Regions from separate parts of the Homo sapiens genome. Here region 2 is linked to region 1. The links are contacts of gene promoters, found by promoter capture Hi-C in human tissues and cell types (Jung and others, 2019). All regions are on one chromosome and are shown on one strand. The core of a region is centred on a gene start or on the middle of the fragment in contact, and the rest is flanking DNA. Distances in the headings are between cores, read along the strand shown.

Region 1 (2,700 bases), core at 110-2,609:
ATTTGCAACTGCGGTTACTTTCTCTGAATTTAATATGACCCGTTACACTTCTTAGACTAGTATATACCTCCATGAGTTTCCACTGCTACTTTATAAATACTAAAATATTTTTAAAAGCCATTTCAGATTGAGCTGTACTCAACTCTAAGAGCTTGCCTTTAAAGCAAACCCACTGCAGCTTCCAAATGCTTGAAAGCATCAGTAGGGTCTTCAGCTATGATGGTCTGAACGGCCTGCTTTCCTTGTCTCTGGTCCTCTTGAGTTTCTCCTAAAGGCATTCAAGCCTTTCCTTTCTCTTCCATCCCCTGCCTCACAAATGAACTTCAATACCCAGATCAAAGAAGCGGGAGGTCAGACTCTTTCCTTTGGGATTTTCTGTTTGTTTATTTTAAAGAACGTTTCCAATGGCAAAGGCCACAGCCCAACTTCTGGACTAGGAGAGTCATTAAGTGTAAGGCCCTTCCTGTCTTCCCATCACGGGACCCTCACAGAGACCTCAGAGTGTTGCCCCGTCCTACAGGCGCGCAAACAGGCTTGATAACTAGCGCGCCGCCTCAGTGTTTGTCCCCTCTCCTCTCTATCCGAGAAGCCCTGTTCAGGTGCCCCCACCAGCACGCCCGCTGTCTGGCCGCCTGGCTTTCCTGTGGGGTGCAGGAGTGCGCCCGGCCTCCTGCGGGTCTCCGGGCGGCGTCACCTCCTCTGAGGCTTCCCCTCCCTTTCCACCCCGTCGCTCTGACTGCCTTACGGAAAGGGCACCAAGGAACTCTCGGGTGAAGCAGCTTCCTGTTCTCAGTGCTTTCCCTCCGTCCGGTGAGATTCCCAGTGAGACTGTTTGAATAAAATCACCTGGCAAAGGAAAAGCCCAAACTTTAGGGACCAGCCACGGCTGAGTAGGGGCTGAGCGGTGGCAGCCAATGAGATCTCGAGTCGGACGTGCAGGCCGCCGTTCCAATTGGGCGGCCGCCCCAGAGTAACCAATGGGAAGCGCGGGAAGGCCGGGAGGGGGCGGGAGCTCTCACCTGCCACTGGTCTAGGTGTCTGAGGAGCATCTTCCTGGCTCAGAGACCTTTTGCTCCAGGTGCTCATGCCGCAAATGGCAATCTGCGCGCGAACTAATTCGCGGCCGCATAATTTAATAACATCGTCCTTCCATTTGGCCGCGACTGCTCTGGAAAATTGGTTCAGTAGTAAACAGAATTCTAGCAGGTGGAACAAGAACAGGCGAGGCATCCTGGGCCTGGTCTCTCCTGGAGGTCTGGGTGTTGCAGCCTTTCAGGACTGCGGCTGCTGTGGCCTACACACCTGGGCCTGTGTGCCTGTCCCGGGCTTTAGGCTGCTTTCCCTACCCGGCTCAACCAGTCTTTAGTATGGGCTATCACTCAGCTTTTAAGGCAAGGTTGCCAGCTCCACCCCTTTCCCACACCCCTCCACAGAATTTTCTCCTTCAGCTCTTGTTCTGCCTCTCCGCCCTTCCTTCATTTGCCCATTCCTCTGTCCTTGGCCCTTTTACAGTTTTGTTTTTCGCTCTTTTGTTACCCTGAAACAACTTTGTATACTTAGGTAAAGTTATTTTAGATATGAAGCCTTTCTTTTTACATACACAGAAATAAAATTGAGATCGCCAATATTCTTACAACCCAGTTTTCCAGAGTGAACATTTGCCAAAAACCCTTCTAACCTAAATAGGATTATAGATTACCTTATAAATTGGATTAATTAGTATAATGTTGGGCATATCAATCCATAAAAATATAATGGATGAATGAATAAATTGTTGATGAGAGGGAAAACTGATGACTTTTAATCTGAATCCAGGTAAAAAGATTAAAATCCCCAGTAACATCATTTTAGGCTTGTGCAGTAATGTCTTTAATTTACAAAACAATTTCTCCATTGGACTTTCCTTCCACTCCTGTGGGAGAAGTTTGATTGTAACTAGTTGTCTAAATATTTTAATTTAAAATTCTAGTCTATGTCTCTGGAGACTGGAGAACACACCACACACACAGAGAGAGAGAAAGAGAGAGAGAAAAGAAGAAGAGAAAGAAGAAGGGGAAAAAAAGCAGTGGACATCCCACATTCCCAGAAATAATATTTTGATAACAAATTACAGCACAAGGATATGTTCATTTGTTTACTGTATTTTGTGTTTGCTGCACCTGGTTAGAGGTGATTCTTTTTTTATTACCACCACCTAATTTAGCATTTTAAAGATCCACACAGTTCTAGATAATATGGTTAGTAGACGACCCTTCTACCTGTAAATTTTTAGTACAAATAGGTTCATTTTTAAAAATAACTTACTTGCTTGTGTTCATAATATACTCAGATTAGTTCAGCTCCATCAGATAAACTGGAGACATGCAGGACGTTATGGTAGCTTTGAAATAAAATAATAACAATCTCTTAGTTACAAACATAACTATGGAATCAAGTAATTCTAATTTCTAGATTGCTGGTGATTTCAGTAGGCCCACTTAACATTGGTCAAATGCCAAGCAATGTGTAATTCTTCAAAAAATACCTGACCAAAGCTATGAGATGGTTAGAGGCAATTAATGATTTTAAATGGATTTTCACTAAAACACACAGTTTGAGAAAGGCCTCTCAAAACTGAGGTTTGAAAATATTTTCGTGGGTTAACAGTCCTTGTAAAAACAATCCACGTGCTAGGCTGTACTCCAAATTAATTGCTCATTA
Region 2 (2,780 bases), core at 183-2,682, 350 kb after region 1:
ATCTAGAACTAGAAATACCATTTGACCCAGCCATCCCATTACTGGGTATATACCCAAATGACTATAAATCATGCCGCTATAAAGACACATGCACACGTATGTTTATTGTGGCACTATTCACAATAGCAAAGACTTGAAACCAACCCAAATGTCCAACAATGATAGACTGGATTAAGAAAATGTGGCACATATACACCATGGAATAGTATGCAGCCATAAAAAATGATGAGTTCATGTCCTTTGTAGAGACATGGATGAAATTGGAAATCATCATTCTCAGTAAACTATCACAAGAACAAAAAACCAAACACCGCATATTCTCACTCATAGGTGGGAATTGAACAATGAGATCACAGGGAGACATGAAGGGGAATATCACACTCTGGGGACTGTGGTGGGGTGGGGGGAGGGGGGAGGGATAGCACTGGGAGATATACCTAAGGCTAGATGACGAGTTAGTGGGTGCAGCGCACCAGTATGGCACATGTATACATATGTAACTAACCTGCACAATGTGCACATGTACCCTAAAACTTAAAGTATAATAATAAAAAAAAAGAATATGTTAATGAGGGATCTTGGCCTGTAGTTATAATGTCTTTGTCTGGTTTTGTTATGAGGCCTCATAAAATGAGATAGGAAGTGGTTCCTTCTCTTTGGTGTTCTGGAAGAGTCTGTATTCAACTGATATTATTTATTTCTTAAAGAGTTGGTAGAATTTACCAGTGATGCTGTCTCAGCCTAGAATTTTCTTTGTGGAAAGGATTTGAATTGGAATTATAATTTCTTTAACAGACATTGGCTTTTCAGGGTACAGATTTCTTTTCAGTGAACTTTGGTGGTTTGTGTTTATCAAGGAATTTGTCCATCTCATCCAAGTTGTTAAAATTATTGTCATATTAATAATGTGACCTCATTATTCTTTTAATACCTCTAGAATTTGTAGTGATATCACCTCTTTGATTTCTGTTAGTGGCTCTTTTTTGCCTGATCAGTGTGACCAGAAATATGTCAGTTTTAGTGATCTTCTAAAACAATAACAAAAGAACCCCAGATTTTTATTCATTGATTTTATTTTTCTGTTTTCTATTTCATTGATTACCACTCTGATCTCTGTTATTTGCATGCTTCCCCACCCTCCACCACTTGCTTTGGATTTCGTTTGCTCTAGTTTAATTTGTTTCTAGTTTAAGGTAGAAGCTTGTCATTGATTTGAGATTTTCCTTTTTTTCTAATATAAGTATTTTAAGGCTGTAAATTTCCTCTTTAGTACTGCTTTAGCAGCATCCCACAAATTTTGGGATGATGTATTTTTAAAATTTCCCTTTTTCTCCTTTGATTCATGGGTTATTTAGAAGTATGCAGTTAAGCTTCAAAATATTTGTGGGCTTTCCAGAATTTTTTTTATTTGTTTCTAGTTTTGTTCTATTGGGATCAGGAAACATATATTATACACATTTTATTTTTACACACGGTATAAACCCCAGCATACACTGCTATTATTCTTGTTTTAAAGCCTGTTATCTTTTAAAGAAATTTAAGTGAAGCAAATGAAATTTGAATTTAATTAAATATTTTTTTTCTGACTCTTACCCCTGTCATGCGGAGACTCTGTTTATATGTATATTGGGCTACATGAAGTTGTTCCTCAATTCACTGATTTTGTTTCTGTTTTATTTTGGGTTTTTTTGTGTGTGTGTGTGTTTCATTATGGATAATTTTTATTGCTGTGCTTTTCTGATCATTGTCTAACCTGTCATTCATCCAGCCAATGTCTTTTTCATCTCAGATATTTTAGTATTTCTGTTTCTAGAGTTTTGTTTGAGTTTTCTATATTGCCTAACCTTTGGAACATACAGAATATAGTTCACATTTGGAACATTATGAAATATAGCAAAAGGTTTTAATGTCCTTTTGTGCTAATTTTAACATCTGATTGAGTTATGCATTGTTTTGATTGGTTGATTTTTCATTATGTCTCATGTTTGTCTTACTCTTCCTGGACTCTTCAGCTTCTTCTCAACTCTGGAAGTCTGCCAGGCTTTGTCTTAGTGCGCCTTCTAAGTGTGCTGACCCAGAAATTCTCACAAGGCAGTAAGCTGGGTAAGAGTAGGAGGGTCACTTCAGTTGTTTCTTATCTCTCAAGGATGACTGGCCTTCATTGCTTGATGCCAGTGTTTTGAAAAGTATTTCATAGATTTTGTCTGTTTTTGTTGTTGTTGTTGTTCTTGTTTTTTTATGTGTGAAACCTTTGTTATGATTTGATTTGAAGCCATTTTCCTTTTGCTTCCATACTCTCCATATTGCAAGAACATAAAATTGCACATAAAGAATTAGAAAGATGATCTTATCTGAAGAATTTTCACCCTTTTGTTTTTGTATCTTACAGTGTTGAAACTCTAGTTTCAAATACATTATAAAATAGTAAAGTTAATGGTCAAAAAGAAAGCAAACCACCTGGTTTTGCTGAAGAAACTAAGTATTTTCTTGGTCATTCCTTTGAAAAACAGGAAGCCAGAATTAGAAAGTAATTTGAAACCTTGGATAATTTCTTGGTTTTCTTTGGTTCTACTTTGAGTACATGCCCACCTCCCTCTAAAATGATAGGAATTCAGTATTACTGTAAAGTAGTTTGGGCAAAACACTGCCACTTCACTCTGTTAGGCGTAAAAATGTTTGGCTGGAAACAGCTAAATATAATATTTTGTACTTACAGAAATGTAAAATGGTTGTTTGAACTTCACAAATGTATGTATGTCATGACGCAGATGTATGTCATG

What was found. The method cuts DNA at HindIII sites, captures the fragments that hold promoters and counts their contacts. A contact is called where the count stands out against the background at its distance.
Region 2: a fragment that was not itself captured here is called in contact with the fragment with the promoter of RLN1 in region 1 in 1 of the 25 tissues and cell types used here (heart left ventricle).

Annotation. Positions count from the first base shown.
Region 1 is chr9:5,338,517-5,341,216 of GRCh38, forward strand. RLN1 (relaxin 1) reads right to left here and starts at 1,360. Exons shown (of 2, transcript NM_006911.4): 1 at 1,020-1,360. The coding sequence starts at 1,230. It also overlaps a transcript of RLN2 not described here. The HindIII fragment of the contact is 11,119 bases long and covers 1-2,700 here.
Region 2 is chr9:5,686,232-5,689,011 of GRCh38, forward strand. All of the region lies in intron 2 of RIC1 (RIC1 partner of RAB6A GEF complex), which reads left to right. Among named protein-coding and RNA genes, the nearest start is that of INCR1, 58 kb to the left of the region's middle. The HindIII fragment of the contact is 4,729 bases long and covers 1-2,780 here.